Linked DNA regions of Homo sapiens: regions 2, 3, 4, 5 and 6 are each linked to region 1. Evidence: promoter capture Hi-C in 16 types of primary human blood cells and fetal thymus (Javierre and others, 2016). All regions are on one chromosome and are shown on one strand. The core of a region is centred on a gene start or on the middle of the fragment in contact, and the rest is flanking DNA. Distances in the headings are between cores, read along the strand shown.

Region 1 (4,279 bases), core at 1,196-3,695:
GCTCATGCCTGCAATCCCAGCACTTTGGGAGGCCAAGGCAGGAGGCTCACTTGAGGCCAGGGATTCAAAACCAGTAACGTAATTTATTTTTTTTTAATTAGCTGGGTGTGGTGACACATGCCTATAGTCCCAACCCAGGAGGCTGAGGCAGGAGGACTGCTTAAGCCCAGAGGTTCAAGGATGCAATGAGCCATGATGACACCACTGCACTCCAGCCTGGGTGACAGAGTGGGACCCTGCCTCTAAAAAAAAAAAAAAGGAAAAAATACACGAGAATTTAAAAATATATAATCACTGTTAGAAATCCAAAGCAGTGGATTTCTACTACATTAAAGCAATAAAAATAAAAACTCCAAAACATGTAAAACCATAAAACATTCTTGATTCCTTCCCCACTCAGGTCTACCAAAGATGCACTTCTGAGTCCATTTTCCCACATATTATGAAAAATTGTTTTTCCCCAAGAAGTGTAAGGATGTGATCCTTAAAGCTTCCGGACTTCACCAAACAACCTGGTAAAAGGAAGTGAAAGCAGGCACTTAGCCTATTCAGGGGTTAGCATGTTACTTTGTACAGAGCAAGTGCTATATAAGCATTTATTGAATCGTGATATAAAATTTTTTTTGAGGTTTTTCAAACTAAAAACCTATAACATGAGCTTTGTAATTGGACTGATGGTGCAGTAAATCAAAACAATCTTACCTAACTGACCCTGCCAGTAGCAAAACAAAAAGACCAATCTAATTAAGGTAATGTTAACCAATGGCCAAGAACCCATGAAAGGAAAAAGCCATGTTAACTTACTATTGCAAGTAAGAGTTGGGTTTTTAGAAAAGCAAAATAATGATTTATCTTGTTGTGCAGAAATGACCAACACCTCAACAGAATCCGTTTGTGTTGCAATCAAAACTATCAATTAAGATCCAGACATTTCTGGACCAATGTGAGAAGATGTGGCAAGGGATTCAAAAACGAGCCAGAGCAAACCTAAGGTAAAATGTGTCAAAACAGCAAAGCTCTTGGAATCATCCTGGTCATAAAAGTTTGACAGTTTCATGTGAAACCCCTATCAACCGATAAGTTTTAAATCAATAGTATATTCCTAGGTCTAACACCAGCAAACGGTGTTTAAGAACGGCTTTTCAAAACAATGGTCTCGTGAGGGTTCAGGGAAAGAAGTGACTCCAGGCTTTCTGAGATAGCAGATACAGCAGCAGATTCAGACCTCAAGAGAAATGTAAAGGTGTCCTAGACTGAAAAATTACTATTGGGCAAAACTGTGTGTCGGTTTTCCACAACATTGTCTTCTTTAGAGAATCCTCAAACGATTCTTGGTTTTTAACCAAGTCTTCACAAGAAATAGAAAGTCATCCGTTTAGGGTAAGAGATTCCTGTTACCAAGAAAATTGTGTCCGAAAGTGTGAAAATCTCACAACCTGCAAGAAAATGTATGTCCCTCAGGAGGCTTTCATTTTCAAGCGGAAAAACAAACCCGGTGTCACCTCAACAACGGGACCACACAAACCTCGCCATTACAAAACCCAAGTGCCAAAGGTGCACAATGTGAATCCGGAAGCACTGCAAGGCCAGGATCGAGTTCCCAGGAGGAAAAAATCAAACTCAGGAGTGCAGCGCGGGCCCCTCCACGGCCCGGGGGCCAGGCAACCCGCGCTAGGCCCTTCCGGTCCGAGGCGCCGCCGTCGCGGGGAGGTCGGGCGACGGGTCGAGCTTCCACCCGAGCCCGGGGATTCGCGGCCTACCCTCACCGGCGCCCTCTTGCCGGGCCCGGCACCGGCAGCTCCTCCGACTCTGCCCTTTGGCTAGCAGCGGGGCCCGGACGAGCCACGAGGAGCCCGAGAGGACCGCCGAGCCCCGGGATGGCCGGGTCGGTGCGGACACGGCGGTAACCGTAGGGACCGTGGCCGCCCCTCCCCCACCGGCCCGGCCCAACCGCCGCCGCGACACGAGCAGCGGCGCCAACGCCGGGCCCAACCGCGGGCCTGCTGCGGCCCCGGCCAAGCGGCTCGAAGTGGCGGCGCGGGCCTGCTCCCGACACCGACCGCGCGAGGCCACCGTGGGCCTGTTACTCCTCGCGCCGGCCCGCGCCGCCACCCGTCAGGACGCGCCGCCCTCGGCTGGGGATAAGGCGGCCGACAGCAGCGGGGGGCCGCGGAGCTGATACTTACTCAGGGGTCGGGTGCTCCGGGTCGTAGAAATCCCCCATCTTCGGAGGCGGCTGCGGCTGCAGCTGCTTCATCGGGAGCGGCTGGAGACGGCGACGCGAGCCCCCTCCCCGCAGCAGGGCGACGCGGGGGAGGGGAGGGGAGGAGGCCGCAGGTCCGACCGCGGCGGCGGCGGCGGCGGCGGCGGCGGCGGCAGGGGCGGCCCGCGTCGCTACCTCGCTCGTCGCTCCCTCCCTCCCTCGGACGCCCGCCAGCCGCTCTCTCCCTCTCACCCTCACACCGGGAGCGACGCACACCCCACCCGCCCCTCAGCTTCGCAGGCCCGGCCCCTTAAAGAGACACACACGGGCCACCGATCTGCCGCCAGTCGGCGTGCCTTGCAGCTGTTGGCTTGACCCCAGGCCGGGACGGGCAGAGCGGAACACTGCCCGGCGGGTCCAGGCCGACCGTGCCTGTGGCTCTCCGGAACAATAAACCCCCGGCCCCAGTGATGTGGGCCAGACCGGACCTGGAGAGGCGGCACCGCGACCCCTCCCGCAACCCGCCTGGCGGCCGGGGGCAGCGTGACCCGGCCCGCTACCGTGTCACAGCTGGCGACTGACAAACAGCAGGCGACGTCGGGAGAACTCCCCGAGACACCCGAGACATCAGCCTTCTCGCTCCGCGGCCCTGCAGGACCTGCCCGCCGGGAGCCCCGGAGTCCGCGGCAGCGCCGAGGGCCCCTCCCCCAGGCCTCTGGGCTCTGAGGTAACGCGGCCGCGGCTGCTCCCGGGCCCCTCGTCCCACTCGCCCCTCTCTTTTTTATTTTTCCTCGCCCTCTCTCTCCCTTGCCCGTTCATCTCGACCCTTTAGCAAGCATGGAAGCCCAGCGAGGCGGGGGATTGCTCGGAGGCCGAGCTCCCGGCAGCCTCCTCCGCCTTCCTTCCCGCTGTGCCCTCGGGGCTCCTACCTCCACCTCGGCGCGGCGCTCTGCCCCCACCCGAAGTCTCCAAGGCGGCAGCTCCCCTCTCCTGTGTGGTTCTTGGGGCCTTAGAGGCAATGTCATGAAAAAAAGGGTATTAATCACTTTCCTACAGAAATGATAAGATGAGACTAAGTAGAATAACTTGAAAGAGCTACGAGTTGTTATTTTTGGAAGGAGAGATAGGAACGCGTAAATCCAATAGCTAAACTTTCTAGACGCTGAAGAGTTTTTGGCGATAGATCATTTTGACATTGGGGGTTCATAGGGTTAGCGTTTTTTGTGTTGTTGTTGCTGTTGTTTTTCCACTAGAATTTTGAATCGGATTTTACCAGCAATTGGTAACGGAAAGGAAAGGATGTGTCTTCCAATTGAGAAACAGTGGTTAAAAACTGAAAGTGGGCCGGGCGCGGTGGTTCACGCCTGTAATCCCAGCACTTTAGGAGGCCGAGGCGGGCGGAGTAACTGAGGTCAAGAGTTCCAGACCACACTGGCCAACATGGCGAAACCCCATCTCTACTAAAAATACAAAATTTAGCCGGGCGTGGTGGCGCACGGCTGTAATTCCAGGTACGCGGGAGGCTGAAGCAGGAGAATCGCTTGAACCCAGGAGGCGGAGGTTGCAGTAAGCCCAGATTGTGCCACTGCACTCCAGCCTGGCGACAGAGCAAGACTCCATCTCAAAAAAATAAATAAATGAATGAAAATAAAAAATAAATTAGCTGGGCGTGGTGGTGCGCCTGTAATCCCAGCTACTCGGGAGGCTGAGGCAGGAGAATCGCTTGAACCCAGGAGGCGGAGGTTGTAGTGAGCCCAGATCGCACCATTGCACTCCAGCCTGGGCGATATAGCGAGACTCCGTCTCAAAAAAATAAAACAACAACAACAAAAAAAAACTGAAATATGATACGAAAGAATAAACATCCTTCAGTGGTTAACTTTTTAAAATAGCCTTTATATGTATGTAGGCTACAGTGTCTATTAGTGTTTTATAATCATTGTTTTTCACTTAGGGATTATTTTGGCTTTTGTTTTTTTTTTTCCTGGTACCTTTAGGGTTAGCATGGAGGTCCAGGGTCCATCTGACTCCCTAGGTTCGAATCTCCCAAGGCCATTTTTTTACACACCGTGATTA
Region 2 (4,279 bases), core at 797-3,296, 250 kb before region 1:
TGAGACCAGCCTGGCCAAAATGGTGAAACCCTGTCTCTACTAAAAATATTTAAAAAATGGCGCGGGCTCACGCCTGTAATCCCAGCACTTTGGGAGGCCGAGGCGGGCGGATCACGAGGTCAAGAGATACAGACCATCCTGGGCAACATGATGAAACCCCCTCTCTACTAAAAATACAAAAATTAGCTGGGCATGGTGGCGTGTGCCCATAGTCCCAGCTACTCAGGAGTCTGAGGCAGGAGAATCTCTTGAACCCAGGAGGCGGAGGTTGCAGTGAGCCAAGACCGCACCACTGCACTCCAGCGTGCCGACAGAGCAAGACTTCATCACAAAAAAAAAAAAAAAATTAGGCACGGTAGCACACAGCCACAGTCCCAGCTACTTGAGAGGCTGAGGTTGGAGAGCTGCTTGAGCCCGGGAGGCGAAGGTTGCAGTGAGCTGAGATCGTGCCACTGCACTCCAGCCTGGGTGACAGAGAATCCATCTCTAAATAAAGATAGATAGATGATAGATAGATAGATAGATAGATAGATAGATAGATAGATAGATAGATAGAAAAAAAAATAAGCCTGTGTGTTGAAATACAGCATATACAGCAAGTTGTATAAAAATAAATACATATAGAGAATAAATTCCCATCACTCAAGCCAAGAAAAACACTTTGCCATTATCTCAAAGGGCCCCACTCCAGAGCTAACTACAAGCCTGAAGTTGACGATCACCACCTTGCTCTTCTGCCCTGGCCTTACCACCTGCGTGTGTCCTTACATTGTCTCACTCCGCCTGTTTGGAACGTCACACAAATGGCTCATACTCTATTTCTTCCGTGACTTGCTTCTTTCAACATCTATCCATTTGTTGCACATGACTGTAGCTCTTCTCACAGCTATGGAACATCACACTTTCAGAATGACAACTTATTATTACCACATTCTGGCTTTGATTTAGTGTGTGTGTGCACACATGTGCCCGTGCTATTACAAACAATGCTTCTACAAGCATTTCTGTCCCTGTCTCCTGGTGTACATGTGCAAGTTTTCTAGTGCACTAAGAGCGCAACTGATGGGTCCCAGCGTGCACATGTTCAACTTTCCCAACGTGGTTACACATTTCACACTCTTATGGCTGTGGGTGAGAGGTCCCACTGCTCCACAGTACAGTGGTGTAGCTAATGACACTTCTGAAAGTCTCCCTTGCCTGGCCTCACTCCTGCCACCTCCACTTTCTTTTGTTGATCCTGTGCTTGATAGAGCTTTTCTAGTCCCATTAATCTTTGTTTCTATTAATTTATGAGGCAGGGTCTCACTCTGTCGCTCAGAACTCCCAGGCTCACATGATCTCCCACCTCAGCCTCCCAAGTAGCTGCGACTACAGGCAGGCACCACCCCGCCTGGCTAATTTTTTTATTTTTTATTTTTGTAGAAGACGGAGTTTCACCATTTTGCCCAGACTGGTCTTGAACTCCTGGGCTCAAGCAATCTGCCTGAGACTCGAGCAAATTCAGCCTTCTCAAGTGCTGGGATTACAGGCATGAGCCACTGCACCCAGTCGGCTTCAGGTTTTTTTAAACTCAGCAAACTGAGTTTAAAGGAAAAAAAAAAAGAAAGAAAAGCAGTCTAATACCTTGCTATTACTGATATATCTGGATTCAACTACTCAATCCACCTTTTCTCTCTGCTTTCTTTTGGATAGTTACTTTTTTCCCATTCTGGTTTTTTTTTTTTTTTTTCCTCTCTCATCTCCTCTGAAAGTGGTACACTCTGTTTCTACTCTTTTCAGGTTACCCCAGAAATGTCAAGAGGCCTGTTTCCTAGTCTTATCCCTCTTCCTAAGTGAGCGTCTTCAAGGACTGTAACCCCAACCACCTCCTACCTCTGAACTTACATACCATTGTTGTTATGTATTCTAAATAGCCCCTGCTTTACCCCACAACACATTTTTGTTTTACAAGGTCAGTGCTTATTTACATTTATACTTCCTTTCTCTGGACTTTCCATCTGGGATTGTGCCCCTCAGTCTGAAAATATCCTTTATGATTTTTTTAAAAGGAGAATGCTTATTTCATTTTTAAAAAACAACTTTATACATATACAGCCCACCCATTAAAGTGTACAATTCAATGGCTCTTGGCATATTCAGCATATTCACAGATTTGTGCAACCACAATCACTTTTAGAACATTTTCATTACCCCAAAATAGATTTTCATTTAGTGAGAGTCTGCTGGTGACAGAATCCCTGACTTCGTTGGTCTAAAAACATCTTAGGCCAGGTGCGGTGGCTCAGGCCTGTAATCCCAGCACTTTGGGAGGCCAAGGTGGGCAGATCACTTGAGTTCAGGAGTTCAAGATCAGCCTGGGCAAAATAGTGAGACCCCATCTCTGCAAAAAAACAAAAAACACGTCTCATATTTTCCCTGAGTATGCAATTCTAGGATGACAACTTTCTTTCATTCCTGTTTACACTGGTTATAGCTGAGATATCTGCTGCTATGTTGCTCCTCAAAAGGTAGTATGTCCTTTCTCTCTGATTTTAAGGTATTTTCTTGGTCTTTGTGCTCTTTAATGTTATTACAATGTGATTAGGTATGTGGTAGTTTTTAAATAAGTCCACAAATTCTTACACAGTCCTCCCTTCAGGAAGTGGAAGCTAATTCTTCTAAGTGTCGACTGGGCGTAGTGACTTGCTTCTAACAAACAGAATGTAGCAGAATATCACTTCCAAGCCCAGATCATAAGAAAGCCCCACAACGCTCCCTCCTGCCTTCTTTCTTAGACTGCCACTCTGGGAAAGCCACCTGCCATGTCTTGAGAACACACAGGCCGATGGAGAGGTCCATGTGGCAAGACACAGGGGCCACCAATCAACAGCCCCATGAGTCATCTTGGAAACAGATCCTCCAGCCCCAGTCCAGCCTTCAGATGAGTGCAGCTTCACAACTGACCCCAAGCTAGACTTACCCAGCTAAGCCACTCCTGATTCCTGGCCCACAGAAACTGAGGTAATAAGTGTTTGTTATTTTAAGCCCCCGAGTTTTGGGTAATTTATGTGTAGCAACTGATGATTAATAAAAAGTGTAGAATTTTTTTAAGTAAATTTGCTTACTTAGAATAAACATACAAAAAGGGCATAAAACATGTATACAGTTCAATGAATATTCATAAAGTAAAAATACCTAATCATCACCCAGATGAAGAAACAGAACATTTGGATGTATAGTTCTTCCTATTAACCTGCCTGAGACTTACTGGTCTTCTTGAATCTGTGAATTGGTGATTTTTTCTGGAAAGTTCTCAGCCAGTTTTTAAATATTGCTTCTGCCTCATTTTCATTTTTTTTTTTTCCCACCTGGAACTCCGTCACTTTACGTTGGATCTCTTCATTCTACTCTCCATGTCTCTCAGCCACTTGCTTTACATTATCACTGTTTATCTTGCTGGGCTGCATTTTGGAAAACTTCAGATCTAGCTTCCCATTCACTAATTGTCTCTTCACCTTTGTCTAATTCACAGATACAAGGTTTTTAATTGCCATAATACACTATAGTGCTATATAGTCACTCCTTATCTATGGGGGGATGTTCCAAGACCTCCAACCCCAGTGGATGCCCGAAATGGTGGCGAGTACTGAACCCTATATATGCTGTGTTTCCCCTTTACATACATACCTATGATAAAGTTTAATTTATAAATTAGGCACAGTAACAAATTAACAATAACTAATGAGAAAACAATTATAACAATACACAGTAATAAAAGTTATGTGAATGTGGTCTCTCTCAAAGTATCTTATTGCATGTGATAGTTTCGGACATGGTTGACCACAGGTAGCTGAAACCACAGAAAGGGAAATTGGAGATGCCAGGGGTGGGGGCCAGACTACTGTATTTTTTATTTCCAGAATACTGGTTTGGTTCTTTTGCAAATCTGCTCCTATGTTCACATCTTTTAGTTCTTAAGTAATTTTTAAACATACCTAAATTCCATGGCTGATAATTCTGATGTCTGAAGTCTTCATAAGTCTGGTTCTACCATGTGATTTTCGATGTTGGTTATTTTGCACCTGAGGCTCTGTTACCTTGTGTGTCTGATGAGCTTTTCTGCAACCTGTTCGTTTCTCTTTTCTATTTTAAAAATAACTTAAAGCTCTTGGCTCAAAATGTATTGCTCCCTTCCTTTGATGCTCATTTCCCAGCAAGCTATCGTCCTACATGGGGCCAGACTCCTAGTCGCACTGTGGGGAGGGACAGGTGCTGTGCCCATCATACTCAGCAGCGGTGA
Region 3 (4,279 bases), core at 553-3,052, 180 kb after region 1:
GAGACCCAGCTCTCATACAGGTTCTGTCACTACCTAGCATTGCATCCTTGGGCACATCCTTTTTGTTTCCTTAGATGCAAACAGAAAGGGTTAGGTGAGGTGACCTCTCCCTGTCCCCATACACCAAAGAGCAGGCCTGCAGCAGAGGGAATACTGGGAGAGCTCCTTGTCCCCATACCTCCCACAGGAGTTTGACATCATGGGGGGCTGCTGTGCCCTGCACGGTCACTCCATGGACTGAGCTTTGCCTCTGACTGTCCTGTACCTGTGCCTCTCTCCCCACTGCAGGTGGAACACTACAACCACCACACAGCCACCTGGCACCCTGCAGCTGGCATGCTCAACAAGCGCTGCCGGCACGGAGCCGCCTCCCTGGGGAGCAAGATGTTTGTCTGCGGGGGCTACGATGGCTCTGGCTTCCTCAGCATTGCCGAGATGTACAGCTCTGTGGCAGACCAGTGGTGCCTGATTGTCCCCATGCACACGCGCAGGAGCCGGGTCTCCCTGGTGGCCAGCTGTGGGCGCCTCTACGCTGTTGGGGGCTACGACGGACAGTCAAACCTAAGCTCAGTGGAGATGTATGACCCAGAGACAGACTGCTGGACATTCATGGCCCCCATGGCGTGCCATGAGGGAGGGGTCGGTGTGGGCTGCATCCCTCTCCTCACCATCTAAGGCAGAGGATGGGATGTGGTGGGGCAGGGATCTGGTACAGACATAGGCGCTTCCTTCCAGGAACAGTCCCTCAGGAGAGGCAGTGGACCAGAAGAGATGGCGAAACGTGAGCTCGCCGGAGGTACAGTTTTTCCAGGTGCTTAAGCCCTCCCCCACTGTGCCACCCTTGTGACCTTCAGGCTTGGGTCATCAAGATGCACAGCATGGAACACAAGCTCCTCTGGATCCTGCAGCTGGTGACATGGAACTGTTTTCTGGTCCACATGAACACAGGCTCCATCCAGGCCCAGCTCCTACCCACCGCCTCTCTGTGGGCCAGCTGTTCACAGAAGGCCTTCCATCTGATGCTCCCCATCGCCTGCTTGCTCTCCAGCCGAGTCTGGCCAATTTGCCATGGGGAGGCTGCAGTGTCCAAGCCTGCTGGAAACTGGGATGTAGCTGGGGACGAAAGGACAGACCCAAGCGTTCTCCCTGCCTGAGATGGTGTGGCCACAGCAGTGGAAGGCTGCACACAGGCACATTCCTTCTTCCACAGTGGGGCACCAAGGATTCTGTCCTCATTGCTGGGTAAGCAGGGAGAAGAGAAGTTTTCCCCATGTCTAATTTTGGGATTTCAGTGAGGCCTTTTGATCTGTCCAGGAGAACAGAAGGGAAAAAAAGATACTTGAAAGAAACTGAAGGAAATTTAAACAAAGAAACACTTGAAAGAAACTGGAAAGAAAAATAATTTTTTTATGTGAACAAATTTTGCAAGAAGAAAAAAGCATAAAAGACACTAACGGCAAATCTATGTTTAAATGGAAAATCGTCTAACTGGAGAAGGGCGGTATCCACCCCACATTCGGATCCCAGGGTCCTGAGGCCTCGCATTGAGCTGGGGGTTCCCTCTGAGCCCCAGTGTGTGTGGAATCAGTGCACTCTTGACTGGGCCTGTAGTAAGGTGCTCATGGGGTTTGTCTTCTCACCCACCATCAGAGGACTTTTAAAATCATAGGCGTAGAGAGTTAGGCTATCTGCTGAATTACTGCCACTCTTCTTGGTGGGGGCTCCTAGCTGTGGCTGGGGGCTCCAGGCGCCCCTGTGATTACCTCCTACTGCCACCATGGCGCTCATTCAGATTCCCCACTCTCACTAACATTGCTTCCTTTTTTGACCAGCAGGAAACAGCAGGTCTGGCCAGATTCTCACTTGCCCATCAATCTCGTTCTTGGATGATTTCCCTCATTGTGATGCTTCTGGGGCACGTTGACCATATGCACCTCTAGAACCTAACCAGGGCTTCCTTCTACCAGCTGTGGGCGGGCTTGGTCTGGTAACCTTGTCTGCTCTGCCATTCCACTGCTCCTCCATCCACTCGCCAATCCCAAGAGTCTGGCCTCCCTCCAGCCCTGGGCAGACTGACCAGCAAGGTGGACCTTTACATTCAAGCACAGCTGGCTTTTATGACATAAAGAACTAAAGGCCGAAAGAATCTCTTGCTGCTGCAAAGAACAGATTTTATATTTCTTCCTCTAATCTTGGCAAATGACCTTTACCTTTTGGAAAGATTTCATATTGCTTCCTCCTCCCTGGATAGGACCTAATGTAGCACAGCGGGACTCAAAGAGGAGGACATTTTCTCTTGCCAGTGCACTGGGCAGTGGGGCTGTCCTTCAACTGCTGCTGCCAAAATTGGTTTTCTAAAATTCTTCCAGTAGAGACTAAAAGAAGATTCAATTCCTGTAACCCAAGACTGAGTCTTAGGGCTCCAGTCTCCACCTGCTTGGTTTCCTATCCTTTGCTGCCTGCCTGGGGTGGCCTGGAAGCCTGTTCAGAAAGGCACAATGTGGAGCCTGGGGTGTCTCCCCCACCCCAGGACCGTCAGGTTTACCAGTGTGTGCAATCGCCATGTATTCAGAGGGAAGTACCTTTGTTACCTACAACTTAGGAGCTAGGCCTCTGCTACAAGCACTTGAAAATGATATTTTTATTTTTAACGTCTCAACAATCTGATATCGGATGTCGTTTAACCTGGGCTCGTGGTAGGGCTCCAGCATTTCTCCCTCCTTCCTGGTTTGCCTGTAGGGGTAGACTCGGAAGGTGGGTGGGGTGTGCATTTCCTGTTAGGAGTGTATCAGTGCTTGTCTTATTATAAGCCCCTTTCTTTTGTGAATTTGAAGTAGCACCAACAAGCCTGGATTGTGAAGGTATTAAGAATCGGTCTGTGGGCTACTGAGTGGGTCCTTAGGATACTGGCCCAGATTTTGCCACTGGGTATGGCAGATCATTTTCTACCATGGCCTGCTGCTCTTGTAGTGGACTTCCTGAGTCCAATCCCACCTCCTGGTGTAGAATTTACACTGCTGCACCTGAGGTCGATGTTTCAAAGTAAGATCAAGCCAGTGTTTTGATCTGGGCTCTGAGCACAAGTCAGGAAACACCAACATATTCACACTCTCCCAGTAGGTTCCTCAGTCCGATGGTGAATGGCTATTCGTAAATGGCTGGTCTGGCTCTTTGGTGTTGGAGCCTTTCCAATAGCCCCATGAAAAGAAGCATCACCCAAGGATATTGTAAAAAGGATGTAACAAGGAGATAGGGTAGACATTGTACTCAGTGGGCCTTGGGGCCTAGCCCAGCTCTGAGCAGAGGACTGTGGCATTCACTGTCCTTGAGTGTTTCACCTTCTTGGATAACACACGGGCCTTCTCTTCTGGATTTCATCAGAGATTACAGCCAGATGGGGGCTGAAGACCATCCTCTTGACCACAGAGGTGTGACTGTGGGAATTCCTCCCAATTTATGGTTTCCCAGAAAATCTTAGTTCCTTTTATTTATAGAATGCATGTCTTTTGTGTTAAGAAACCAAAGAGAAATAAAGAGAACACTCCTAATAGCTCTTGTCCTTTCTTGGTTTATTTCTCAGATATTAGAAGTACATGTTTGTTTTTTAATTGTGATTCACTGAAAAAAATATATTGGACAAAATGGGAATATTTCTGTGAATATAAGGGAAAAGCCAGATGTACAGCAAAAGTAGTCTTTGGAGAGATTTATTTTATGAGAGTCACTTCTGGTGAAAAATATGCAAAGACTTCATTTGCACTTTGGGACTGCATATTGGTGCCTGTCCTGATCGCCCCTACTCTCGGATTTCCCCTTTTCTCCATTCACTGCCCTAAAACTCCAGAGTTTCCCAGTGGAATGTGGCTGCCTGTTGACTGCCTGGAATCAGCATCTCCAGCTCCTTTTTTATGCTCTAGGCGAGAGGTGCTTTAACTTTGGTGCACATAAAAGTCACTGGAAAATGTTTAAACCACAGATCCGTTCCTAAGTCCCTCTCTAGAGACAGGTTCCCTAGGGCTGGGGTGCAGCTCAGCATTCTGGCGTGAGCAAGTTTCCTTGGTGATTTGCATGCTCTTCAGTGTGAGAACTATACTCCCATCTTCAGTTTCACTTCCCCAAATACAGCCGCATTCCAGATCTGCTCTTCCAAGATTACACTGTGGTTAGTGTGGTTTTGCCTGTTGGGAAACTCTTCAGTCACACTTTTCCAAAAGTCAGCTTGTGATCAATCTTGTCCATTGGACTCCTGGATGGCAACTTAATTTTTTTAAGTTTTTGG
Region 4 (4,279 bases), core at 892-3,391, 150 kb after region 1:
ATTACAAATGAGAGTGTTTGGGTTTTTAAAAGCTTTTCACAAAAATGTAGTATCACAGGATTGTAGAATTGGAAGGCCTCTAAGTAGTCACTTAATAGTTTTGAAACCAGTCCAGGACCCCGCTAAGTGTTCTTAGCTCTTATTCTTACGCTTATTTGTTTTTTGTCTTTTTTTTTTTCTTCCTTTTTGTGAAGAACGGAGTCTCGCTATATTGCCCATGCAGGTCTCGAACTCCTGGGCTCAAGCTATCCTCCCACCTCTGCCTCCCTGAGAGCTCGGATTACAGGCATGAGCCACCGCGCCCTGCACTTAGCTCTTATTCTTTATGATAAAAGAAAATCTGCCTTCCTGTAATTTTCTAGATCTGCCCTAATCCATGTGATAGCCCTTCTAGGATTTGACAACAACTATCAGGTTCCTCCTAAATTACCTTTTCCAGACTATCCTTTAGCTATTCCTTATAAGATGTAGCTTTCAGACTCTTGCCCATCTTGGTCTTCCTCATCTAGACAAGGTCCAATTTGTTGTTCCCCTTAGCTGAATACAGAACTCAAATGTAATCAGGCTAACATATCCCAAGATAGGCCTATCTTCTCTGTAGCTGGTTTTTTTTTGAAACCAGGTCACTCTGTTGGTGCACATACAGCTTGTTCTTTTGTCTTCTGTTTATTTTCTAGATGAAAAATAAATGCACAGCAGTTAAACACAGCCAGTTGAACACATACTTAACTTTCATTCCCCTCCATAACCCCATTAAAATAGTAGTAAGAGGGGAAAGACATATCAGCAAATGAGAAATCAATGGAATATTAAAGCCAGAGAGCATGTGTGGAAGACTTAGTGGGCCAGAGGAACTGAAAGTGCCTCCCGGGGGAGAAACTGAGAAGGAAGAGGATTTCTAGTGTAGAACCCTGGAATTGTTCCAGAATTGGAGACACCAAATACTGAAAACAGGAAGATTACTTGGAAGTCTGTATGAAAGGCAATTAGATGCCTGCACCCCCTCCCCCACTCTCTCAGGAGATAGGAAGTTTAGTCTTAGATACTGAACCAGAGGCTCCGAATCAGGCACACCAAGCATAGGAGAAAGGGTGCAATATGGAACAAAACTGAAAAGAAGGGCTTTAAGATAAGAGTTATCAGTAGTGCATGGTAGAACCATCCACCTCTTAGACCCAGTTTCCAGAATATCTGTAGGCCGACAGATATTTCCCTGCAAGAGACTGGAAGATCGTGCTCTGATAAAATTAACTCCAGAGAAAAAGTCCTGAAGATACTGAATACTTCTAGGGGTCCTCAATCAAATGGCCGATTCTTGCCTGATCACCCTAATGTGAAGCCCACAAATCAACAAGCCTACCCCCTAGCCAAGTGTCACCAGACATTTAAAGAAAACCTCTAACATAGAAGACAGAGATCAAAACAATTGGAAGAGAAAATATCTCAGGAAACAGTAAAAGCAGAGAGATAAAGAAGAAAAAAAGTTGTAACTATATACTGTCTCAGGAGAGATTTGAGAAAATATTGCATTCATGAAAGATGAACAGGATTCTTTTAAAAAGGAAGCTTTTGAAAACAAGAACTCTAGGAAATTAAAAATATGATAGCCAGTATAAAAACCTACAACACAGAAAGATTGTAAGATAGGGTTGAAGAAGTTTCCTCACTGATAGACCAAATGAAAGAGATGGAAAGTGAGGAAGAACAATAAGAAAATTAGAGGATTATTCCAAGAAATCTAACACCTGACTAATAGAAATTTCTGAGGAGAAAAAATTACAATAGGAGGGAGGAAATTATCAAGGATTAAATGGTGTAAAGAGATTTTTCCAGAACTGAAATAATGTCTGTAGATTGATACAGCACAATAAAAGAAAACCAATACCAAGATACAATACTGTGAAATTTTAGAACTACAAGAATACAGAGAAAATCCTAAAGGCTTCTAGAGAGCACAGTTACATACTTAGAGTTAGGATTCAAAATAGCATTGGATTTCTCAATAACAACAAACTAGGCCAGGTGTGGTGACTCACGCCTGTAATCCCAGCTCTTTGAGAGGCTGAGGTGGGAGGATTGCTTGAAGCCAGGAGTTTGAGAACAGCCTGAGCAACAAAGCAGGACCTGTCTGTACAAATATATATATATGTATATATATACATATATACATATATATGTATATATATACATATATACATATATATGTATATATATACATATATACATATATACATATATATGTATATGTGTGTATATATATACATATATACGTATATATGTATATGTGTGTATATATACATATATACGTATATATGTATATGTGTGTGTATATATACATATATACGTATATATGTATATGTGTGTGTATATATACATATATACGTATATATGTATATGTGTGTGTATATATACATATATACGTATATATGTATATGTGTGTGTATATATACATATATACATATATATGTGTGTATATATATACATATATATATTTTTAAACATAGCCAGGTGCACACTAGCATGCCTATAGTCTCAACTACTCAGGAGACTGAGGCAGGAGGATTGCTTGAGCTCAGGAATTCAAGTCCAGCCTGGGGGACAGAGTAAGACCCCATCTCTAAAAACAAAAGAACTAGAAGACAATGGAGCAATACTTTCAAAATTTTGACAGGAAAAAAGTCTAAACTTTGAATTTTTTAACCAACTAAATTATTATCTAAGCTTGAGGGTAGTAAAGACATTTTCAGACATTGTACATAGACCCCTTCTTATGAGGCTCTACTAGAAGACACATTTTTATTTGTTTGAGATGGAATCTCGTTCTTCTTGCCCAGGCTGAGTGCAGTGGTACGGTGTCTGCTCACCGCAACCTCCGCCTCCCAGGTTCAAGTGATTCTTCTGCCTCAGCACCTCGGGTAGCTGGAATTACAGGTGTCTGCCACCACGCTGGGCTAATTTTTTGCATTTTTAGTAGAGACGGGGTTTCACCATGTTGGCCAGGCTGGTCTCGAACCCCTGACCTCAGGTGATCCACCCGCCTCAGGCTCCCAAAGTGCTGAGATTACAGGTGTGAGCCACCATGCCCAGCCTAAAAGACACTTTCTACCAGAACAAGTGAATAAATAAGAAAGAGGACTACGTGGGGTTCAGGAAACGGGGGTGTTAGTATAGGTGAGGGAAACAGAATTCCCAGGAAGAGTTCCAGTAGATAATGTCTCAAGAAACAGACAACTTAAAACAAACAACTGATAGAGTACCTGACTGAATATATTAACCAGAGTTTTATGCTCTAGGGAAAAGAAAAATTATACAAAAAGGAAATATATACTGACAGTATACAGCATGGCTTGGCTACAAATAATATTTACATAGACTTAATGCAACTCTTCATATTAATTTAACCAAAATTTGACCTAATTATATTGGAAAGATAGGGAGAGTGTAGGGGATAGTACATGAAGAAAGGTATCAGGACAAATTCTTAATCTTCCATAATAGGAATTAGATTAGTAATATAATAGTTATCTTTTGCCGCATAACAAACTACCCCAAAATTTGTGACTTTTTTGTTTTTGAGACTCCATCCCAGGCAGGAGTGCAGTGGCACGATCTTGGCTCACTGCAGCCTCTGCCTCCCAGGTTCAAGCGACTCTCCTGCCCCAGTGACCCAAGTAGCTGGGATTACAGGCATGCGCCCACTAATTTTTGTATTTATTGTAGAGACAGGGTTTCATCATGTTGCCCAGGCTGCTCTCAAACTCCTGATCCACCCTCAAGCAATCCACCTTCCTTGGCCTCCCAAAGTGCTGGGATTACAGGCATGAGCCACCCTGCGTCCGGCCCAAAATTTAGTGACTTAAAACAAGTATTTATTATCTCACAGTTTCTGCTGGCCAGGAGTTCAGAAGCAGCTTAGACATTTCTCACAAAGTTGCTGTCATCTGAAGGCTTGGCTGGAGCTGGAGGATGCTCTTCCAAGCTCACTCAGGTAGCTGTAGAAGTCTTCAGTCTTCTTCATATGGGCCTCTCTTAAGGATATGTTATTTAGCTTCTCTTAGAGCAAGTGATCCAGAAGAAGAGGGTAAGAGGAATTTCAGTGCCTTTTATGACCTAGCTTTGAATGTGACATACCATCGTCACTTCTGCTATATTCTGTTGGTCACATAGACCAACCCTGACATGTTGTGGGAGGGGACTGCACAAGGGTGTAAATACCAAGAGTGAGCATTTACTGGGAGCTATTTAGAGGTTGGGTACCACAGGGAATAACTCAAAGTGA
Region 5 (4,279 bases), core at 669-3,168, 140 kb before region 1:
AGGCCTGGAGTCAACTTGGCTATTATGTTTCAAATCCTGTTACATGGTTTGGCTCTCCTTCTTATAAGTTAAGTTCCAATTCTCTACCCTAAGTCAAAGCTACAACTTTGATATAGCCACACATTTCAGAGTCACTCATGTCCCTGTTCTGGGTTCAGCTCCCTGAACTATCAAGCAAGGCCGGCACAAAACAAGCTCCATCTCTCCCACCTCTGACACTCTAGGATTCCAGGACAGAGGCGAAATGCTCTGTTCTGAAGACTCTTGAATACTCATCACCTTTCCTCCAAAGGTGGAGTTGGCTAGACTGTAGAAGACAGTCTCAGTATGCAAGAGAGGCTCCTTGGAGGTTGGTACCTTCAGTTTAGGAACAGAAAGATTAAGGAAGTATCACGATATTGACGGGGAGGTGATGAAGGTCATCAAAGCCAGTGAACAGATAAGTAGATGATGACACAGAAGATACTCTATGTCCCCAGCTGGCAAGATAATGACAAACCCAGGAACATTCCCTTCCAGCACTGCTAGAGGGAGGCTTCCAAGTTCCCTCTAACTAGGTACTGCACCAGGAGGCGATGAGTTGGAAGCTTTGGTATTCAGAGCACCTGTCATGCAGGCCATCTCCCCATACCTTTGCCCACCACTAGCCATCAGGCCCCTTCCCAGTAAATGTGCTTTTCCACGGAAAATAATAATTATGAGCATTCCCCTCCAAATATAAGTTACTTCATAATGGATCTAGAAGCTGGAGTTGATATTATAGGTACTTCACACTTTTTTGTTAGGGGCACAGGGTAGAATAATTTTCCTGCTCCCCACCCATCTCCTGGTTCTGCTTCTTCCATTTCCATAAACAGTATGAAGGCTCTGGTTCTAAAGCAGCTGGACTAGCTCCAGAGAAAGGTGGCACTCCCTTGGCTTTAGGCTGTTACAAATCAACTTTCTCTGCTGTGTCATAAAAGCTTTACGTATTTTCTATTTTTCCAATTTCTTCATGTAGCTGTATGGGGAGATTAGGGGGTAGAGTAAAAAGAATATAAAGATCCAATTTGTTTTTTAAGAAAACAAAACTAAGCAAAAATAATGCTAATAATATAAGTTAAGTCTATTTTCAAGTGTTTTGCTTTGGGATTTTGTTATTTTTTTTCCCCCAGTTGTAGATGGTATGAGTATGCTCCACAGTAAGACCTTAGGTAGCAAGGGATCAAGAATTATTTGAGTAAGTCAAGAAAACTTCAACACATCCCCAGCTACTCTCTTGTAGCTCTCAGAAGTCAGCAGCAACAGAAATGAGTACAGAAAGCCCCTTCAGGTCTGGGTATCTCAAAGATCTGGGTCCTATAGAAGAGGCCATGCTCTCAGCGAGGGTACTATGTAAATAGAAATGTCCTGTTTCACTCTGGATAGGGTATGCACTCACAAAGCTAAATGAACCCAAAGCACTTTTAATAGATTTATAATTTAATCCCTGACTTGATGAGGTTGGCGGGGGATTGGTGGGGGGTGGCCTTTAAAAACACAATTATAGAATACAATCCACTGAGCTCTGTCTAGGAGCTTTCTTGGTCCTCCTGAGTGCTGAGCAATTGGGATCGAGAAAGGAAATGATAAAATGAGGGGTCCCCAGACTTACATCATGGAAATCATGAACCAAAATGGAATACTCTTGAGAGTACTGAAATTCATGAAACCCTCTCTTCATGGTCTGTGATTTGCAAATGGCATGGGAAATAATTTCAGAAACTGGCTAACATTTACTCAAATCTAATGCCAGGCAAAGTAACCAGAGTCTGAGTTGAGGACAGCACTTGTTATTGACATGAACAACCTTAGGACCCCCCACTCCAAAAAAGTCCCATTTAAAAATTTAGCAGGTAAGGCTGGGTGTGGTGGCTCACGCCTGTAATCCTAGCACTTTGGGAGGCGGAGGAGGGCGGATCACGAGGTCAAGAGATCAAGACCATCCTGGCCAACATGGTGAAACCTCGTCTCTACTAAAAATACAAAAATTAGCTGGGCGTGGTGGCGCGTGCCTGTAGTCCCAGCTACTTGGGAGGCTGAGGCAGGAGAATCGCTTGTGCCTGTAGTCCCAGCTACTTGGGAGGCTGAGGCAGGAGAATCGTTTGAACCCGGGAGAGGTGGAGGTTGCAGTGAGCTGAGATCATGCCATTGCACTCCAGCCTGGGAGACAGAGCAACAATCTGTCACACACACACACACACACACACACACACACACACACACAAATTTAGCACGTGGGGTTCAGTGACTCATGCCTGTAATCCCAGCACTTTGGGAGGCCAAGATGGGGAGATTGTTTGAGCCCAGGAATTCGAGACCAGCATCTCTATAAAAAAACTGAAAAATTAGCTGGGCATGGTGGCTATGCCTGTGGTCCCAGTTACTTGGGAGGTTGAGGTTGGAGAGTTGCGCGAGCCTAGGAGGTTGAGGCTGCAGTGAGCTGTGATCATGCTACTGCACTCCAGCCTGGGCAACAGAGTGAAATGCTGTCTCCAAAAAGAAAAAAAGCACTTTTAAGGAAACCACCAGAGAACAGGGTAGGGGCTCTGATACATAAAAAAGCGAGTGCTTCCAGATCCTCAGCAATAAACAATAATCAGTTTGCCTTTTCTCTGTGTTGGCTTATATAGAGTATCAGTCAATTAAAGATTCTGGTGGAAATCTATGTGAGGCCGTGGACAGTTAAGAGTACACAATGAAATGAGCAGGCAAAGGGCCTGGCAGAAAGCCAGAGCTTACTGCCTTTAGAAGCTGACCCTGCTGTCAGCCTTCACCTGTGGCACATTTGGATTCCTAGGAAATCTGTTCTGATTATGACAAGGCAGGCCTGAGTACCTTTATATTACCCAAGGTGAAGCTTGAGACCTTCTGGATTAGTTGGCAATGGCCTTAAGCTTATTGGGCAGTTCTGGTAACCATACACAGGCTGTGTAACACAACAGAATCACCCTTTATTATAAATATTGACATGACTATGTCACAAAGCCCATGTGACTTGGAACCAAGAGGGTATGGCTTGAGTTACAGAAATGAGTCCTGACAAAGGCAGAGCAGGACATACCCAGCTAATACTTCTCTCTCCCTGTATTTAATTAAATACTGATTAGAGGGCTGGGCACGGTGGCTCATGCCTGTAATCCTAGCACTTTGGGAGGCTGAGGCGGGTGGATCATGAGGTCAGGAGTTCGAGACCAGCCTGGCCAAGATGGTGAAACCCCGTCTCTACTAAAAAATACAAAAATTAGTCAGGCGCGGCGGCGTGCACCTGTAATCCCAGCTACTCGGGAGGCTGAGGCAGGAGAACTGCTTGAACCCGGGAGGTGGAGTCTGCAGTGAGCTGAGATCGTGCCACTGCACTGCAGCCTGGGTGACAGAGCGAGACTCTGTCTCAAAAAAGAAAAAAAAAATACTGTTTAGAACATAAAATGTAAATCATTCAGTGAGGAACTACATCTTTTGTGGCAGCATGAATCCAGAAGCAGGAGGAGAAGCTGAGCCATCATAAACACTATCCACACAATTCAACCTAAGCTCTGCAGCACATGAACCTGTACATGTCAATTTTTAAAAGGTTAAGATCATTGAAAATAATAAAAACTTAGTACAGCTGGTGTTCTGCATCTGTAGGCCAGCCATGGATAGAAAATATTGAAAAAAAATACAATAAAAATAATACAAATAAGAACCAATTTTAAAAAACCCCAATGCAGTATAACCACTATTTATATAGCATTTACATTGTATTGGGTATTATACGCAACACAGAGGTGATTTACAGCATATGGGAGTATGTGCGTAGGTGACATACAAACACTACGCCCTTGTATATAAGGGACTTGAGCATCTTTAGACTTTGGCATCCATGATAGGGTGTCTTGAAATCAATCCCCTATGGATACAGAGTGACAACTGTAATGTGTCTCAAGGTATTCTTCTTTTGGTTGATTTTACTTGGGATCCTTTAGGCTTCATGAATCCGTATGCCTATTTCCCTCTCTCAAGATGGGAAATTTTCAACATTATTTATTTCTTAAACAAATTTTATATAGCCTGGATGTGGTGGCTCAGGCCTATAATCCCAGCACTTTGGGAGGCCGAGGCGAGCAGATCACTTGAGGCCAGGAGTTTGAGATCAGCCTGGCCAAAAAAGCAAAACCCCATCTCTATTAAAAATACAAAAAGGCCAGGCGTGGTGACTCACGCCTGTAATCCCAGCACTTTGGGAGGCTGAGGCGGGTGGATCACGAGGTCAGGAGAT
Region 6 (4,279 bases), core at 901-3,400, 130 kb after region 1:
GAACCTTGAAGACATTACACTAAGTGAAATAAGCCAGTTACAAAAGGACAAATGTTGTGTGATTCCACTTATATGAACTACCTAGAATAGTCAAATTCATGAAGACAGAAAGTGGAATGATGGTTGCCAGGGGCCGGGAGGAGGGGGAATGGAGAGTTACTGTTTAATGGGTATAGTTTCAGTTTGGGAAGATGAAGAATTCTGGAGACAGATAGTGGTGATGGTTGTAGAATGTACTTAATGCCACAGAACTGTACACTTGAACATGGTTAAAATGGTAAACTGTATGTTATTTATATTTAATCCAATTTTCAAAAGATAATTAGCTCAAGAAGACTTGTTACCAGGTGGGCAAGAGAGATTGCTTATAGTGCTTTGTGACTGTAGACACTAAAAACAATTTGTCTTTCTATTGAAACCCAATGATTAGAAACATCTGATGCTAAGGAGTAATCTTTCCTACTCTTTATTTTTGTACTTGGTGCCTCAGCTGTTAAGAGTCAAATTGTATTAGTTCAGCCCTGTAGCTGCACTTCAAATGGTCACTTAAAAGGAATTGCCTTCTAAGAGGTACATATTTAGGAGATGCAGATGTGTTGTGAGCTTATTTTTCTTGGGTTGGTTTGTAAGCTGTAAATGTCGTGTAACCTTGACAGAGCTATTTTGAGGACCAGCAAAACAAGCCGTGCTAACATGTCTTCCAAGTAAAGGTGTGTTGGCATCATCTGCAAATTACAAATAGCTTTCAAACCTATAATTCTACCCCATTTGTCCTGTGGGTCCTCATACTCATTATGTCTAAAGTGAACACCCTTGCCCATCTTTTGTTTCCTCTGTGTTAGGGGGGCACACAATCCATCTAGTCGTGCACAGTTGAAACTCTGGGATTGTCTTTGGCTCATCCTCTCTTATGTGTATTTTGTGACACTTATTACAATAGTAATTACATAACTATTTATAGTGTTGTAACTCCACAAGAGCAGGGCTGTGACTGAATTATTTACTGAGGTATCTACATAATAGCTGCTCAGTAAACCACTGTCCTAATTGAGATCCTCTTCATCTTTTACCTAACCCAGGATTTCTTTAACTTTACTAGCATGTTGAGAGAATTCTTACCGACCTTCTAGTGAATGAGCCTACTAACAGATTGTTTTTCTAGGGAAAAACAGATTTCATTGTAGGGAATGAGCTACTAACAGATTGTTTTTCCCCAGGCTTAATTCTGATCTTATTCTGCTCTGAGTGGCTTCTCATTTCGTTTTCATTCAGCAGGGTGCTCAGCAGGTATGTCAGCACCTTCCATGTGCCAAGTACTGTTCTAGGTGCTGAGGGTGCAGCAGTGAGCAGAGTAGGCCAAGCCTTTTTGAGTATGAGCTTACATCCTAGTGGAGTAGCAGACAATAAACAGATGGAAGATGTCCAGTGGTGACCAGTGCCATGAAGAAAAGTAAAGCAGGAGCCAGCCTCTCTTAATAGAGATCTAAATGAAGTGAGGGAGCAATCCATGAGGATATCTGAAGGCAGAGGGAACAGTAAGCACGGAGCCCTGAGGCAGGAGCACACTTGGTGTTTTGGGGAAACAGCAAGAAGCCAGAATGATAAGGGCAGAGTGACCAAGGAGAAAAGTGGAAGGACACGAGGTCAGAGAAGTAGCCACCCAGCCCAGCACAGTTCCTTGCATGTGTATGGTATGGCTCAGTAAATACGTTGTGAATGAATGAATGAAACCAATCAATAATTATGTATTTATGAATAAAAAATCAGGGCAGGGTGTTAGAGGTATACCTAAGGTAATAGAAAGTTAGGATGCATATTCCATGGTTCATGAAGACAGCACTGCGTTTTGCTTGCACTTTCCCCTTCGGTTTAGGAGAGATGATGATAATGGCCGGAGCCAGAAGACTAATTCTGACTTGTTCTTGAAGGAAATTCTGTTCTGCACACAGTGACAATCAGAGGTTAGAAACTTGTCAGCGGAGCCGTGAGTCGAGCAGAGCTGCTCAGCTCTTGGTGGTTGTAAAACGTGCCTCTACCTCATGTTTGAGAAAGCTTGTGTTTTCCGTGTATATGGCTTAGCATTTTAAGTAATCACGATATCTGAGGGGTAATGGGAATGCAGGAGCAGCAGGTGGTGGCTAGTTTTCTGTAGGATTTAGGAAAGGACTGCTGATTTAACTGAATCTCTGATTATTCTAAGCTGCTCATAGAAATCCACCAGTCACTGCTGTCTCAGACGTCAGAGGGAGAAGCTTAAGCATGTTCTGTTGTTGACAGCCATTCTGGTTGACTTCTCTAAGACTGCCAGCTGTATTCTTGATATTCAGAGTCCTGCAGATGTGGCCCCTCTCTGCTATTCTACCCTGCTTTCCCACAGTGTCCTCTTGCATCAGCTGGCCATCTCTCCATGACTGTGTTCCCCCTCCTCTGGGCCTTTGCTCTAGTGTTCCTTTGGCTTGGAGTATCTGCTCACATCTGCCAAGCAGAGCCGTATCCATGCTTCAAGCTTTCTTCCATATTTTCTTCCTTTGCTTTCTTTCCTTTTTCTTTCTTCCCTTGCTTTCCCTTTCCCTTTCTCTTTCTCCTCTTTTCTTTTTTCTTTCTTCAGGGTCTTGCTCTTGCCCAGGCTGGTGCAGTGGTGCAATCATAGTTCATTGTAACCTCGAATTCCTGGGCTCAAGTGATCTTCCCACCTCAGCTTTCTGAGTAGCTGGAACTACAGGTGTGTTGCCACCACACTCAGTTAATTTAAAAAAAAATTTTTTTTTTTTGGTAGATACAGGGTCTTGCTTTGTTGCCCAGGCTGGTCTCGAACTCCTGGCCTCAGGCAATCCTCCCACCTCGGCCTCACAAAGTGCTGTGTAGCCACTGTGCCCGGCCCCTTCAAAGTTTTCTTTTCTCAAAGGGACCCATGCCCTCTTTCTTGTGCTCTGTCCTATCACAGTGGGGGGTTGTGTGAAGTCCCATCTCTCTGAAGACAGTCTTCTCATATCCCTCCAGGTGTAGTTCATCTCCCCCTCTTCCACTGCACCTTAACCCCTCATTACTTAGTGTTGTCATTGGACTAATAGCGTCAGCATCACCTGGGTGGGGGCCTGTTCGAAGTGCAGAATTTCAGGTCCCGCCCCAGACCTACTGAACTAGAATCTGGTGCTTCTTACATCCTGTGCACATTAAAGTTTGAGAAGCATTGCCGCCACACATTGGTCCTACTCCCCTTACTGGTCTGAGCAGGATGTAGATGGTTCGAGTGTTTTTGTTCCCCTCTAGATGTTGAACTCCTGAATCGTGAGCCATCTCTTACCTAGTATAGTTCTTAGCATGTTTCAAGCACTTAAAAGTATTTACTGAATTACCTTAACTAACCCCTGACCTTATGTTTGAGATGCTTCTTCAGTCAACATACTATATAAGTGCATTTACCTGTGCTTGGTGCTTGTAGGTGCATGAGACACCCTGCTGTGAATGGGAGTCAGCCTCTGTCTTTGGCATTTATAGATGAGTGGGGAAGATAGATTATGCATCAATTATTAATAATTATGAGAAAAGGCAGAGTCTGATAAATTCTGTAACTGCATAGGCATCACCAGAGGCCTAAGGGAACATCAAAGGAGTAGCTGATATTTACAGTTCTGAGGGTTTGTGACTGTTGCATGGAAAGGATGGTATTTAGTTGGTACATTGCAAGATGAATAGGACTTTGACAGACAGGCACAGTGGAAAGAGGCATTCCAGGCCAGGGGAGAGTGTTCAGAGGCCCAGGCATGAAAGTACACCTACAGTGTTTCTTAAATAAGTAAGACATAGAGGAGCAAGGTGGAAGGTGGGATTGGAGAGGTCGATTGAGTACAGACTGTGTACTCCTTAAATTTTCATGGTGAGGAGTCTAGACTGCTAAGAAACACCTGCAAATCAGTTGAAGTTGGTATAGTTACATGTTCAGTGGTTCCTGAGGACTCTGCCCACTTCTCTCCCTTCCTCTGCTCCCATTCTACCTTGCTGGATCTGAGTAGTAGGAAGTGGGGGGAGGGTTTAGAAGAAGTGGGAAGCAGCCTGAATGTTTTAGCCAGCTGTTCATATGGGACTGGAGCCCCAAGTCCTTTTTTAGTGTCAGCTGGTCAGCTACTTCCTTCCTCACCCCCTTCCTGTGTCACTACCCAGTGGGGCACTCTAAAGCAGAGAGACCAAAACTCCATCACAGAGTGTTCAAAGAGTGTGCTCTAAAATGCTATCGAAAACTGCAGACTGAGCCCAGTATGTTTTATTATACTTGCCATCA

The links. Contacts are between HindIII fragments. The CHiCAGO score rates a contact against its expected background, and 5 or more counts as called.
Region 2: a fragment that was not itself captured here is called in contact with the fragment with the promoter of SETD2 in region 1 in 1 of 17 cell types (neutrophils); the score reaches 6.2 in neutrophils.
Region 3: a contact is called between a fragment that was not itself captured here and the fragment with the promoter of SETD2 in region 1, in 5 of 17 cell types (megakaryocytes, endothelial precursors, M2 macrophages and 2 more). The highest score is 6.3, in megakaryocytes.
Region 4: a contact is called between a fragment that was not itself captured here and the fragment with the promoter of SETD2 in region 1, in 4 of 17 cell types (megakaryocytes, erythroblasts, naive CD4 T cells and 1 more). The highest score is 5.9, in megakaryocytes.
Region 5: a contact is called between a fragment that was not itself captured here and the fragment with the promoter of SETD2 in region 1, in 1 of 17 cell types (endothelial precursors). The highest score is 7.3, in endothelial precursors.
Region 6: a contact is called between a fragment that was not itself captured here and the fragment with the promoter of SETD2 in region 1, in 2 of 17 cell types (naive B cells and total B cells). The highest score is 7.3, in naive B cells.

What each region holds. Positions count from the first base shown.
Region 1 is chr3:47,161,668-47,165,946 of GRCh38, forward strand. SETD2 (SET domain containing 2, histone lysine methyltransferase) reads right to left here and starts at 2,446. Exons shown (of 21, transcript NM_014159.7): 1 at 2,187-2,446. The coding sequence starts at 2,257. KIF9-AS1 (KIF9 antisense RNA 1) reads left to right here and starts at 2,703. Exons shown (of 7, transcript NR_033373.1): 1 at 2,703-2,930. RefSeq lists silencers at 1,739-2,048, 2,099-2,848, 2,899-2,948. The HindIII fragment of the contact is 4,411 bases long and covers 489-4,279 here.
Region 2 is chr3:46,914,575-46,918,853 of GRCh38, forward strand. It overlaps the pseudogene BLVRBP1. Among named protein-coding and RNA genes, the nearest start is that of PTH1R, 39 kb to the left of the region's middle. The HindIII fragment of the contact is 4,758 bases long and covers 1-4,279 here.
Region 3 is chr3:47,343,267-47,347,545 of GRCh38, forward strand. It overlaps KLHL18 (kelch like family member 18), which reads left to right. Exons shown (of 10, transcript NM_025010.5): 10 at 289-3,550. The coding sequence ends at 675. Among named protein-coding and RNA genes, the nearest start is that of PTPN23, 36 kb to the right of the region's middle. The HindIII fragment of the contact is 8,623 bases long and covers 1-4,279 here.
Region 4 is chr3:47,314,325-47,318,603 of GRCh38, forward strand. All of the region lies in intron 1 of KLHL18 (kelch like family member 18), which reads left to right. Among named protein-coding and RNA genes, the nearest start is that of KLHL18, 34 kb to the left of the region's middle. The HindIII fragment of the contact is 1,155 bases long and covers 1,565-2,719 here.
Region 5 is chr3:47,019,989-47,024,267 of GRCh38, forward strand. All of the region lies in intron 18 of SETD2 (SET domain containing 2, histone lysine methyltransferase), which reads right to left. Among named protein-coding and RNA genes, the nearest start is that of NBEAL2, 42 kb to the left of the region's middle. The HindIII fragment of the contact is 1,916 bases long and covers 961-2,876 here.
Region 6 is chr3:47,292,989-47,297,267 of GRCh38, forward strand. The region is part of intron 1 of KLHL18 (kelch like family member 18); the gene reads left to right. Among named protein-coding and RNA genes, the nearest start is that of KLHL18, 12 kb to the left of the region's middle. The HindIII fragment of the contact is 200 bases long and covers 2,051-2,250 here.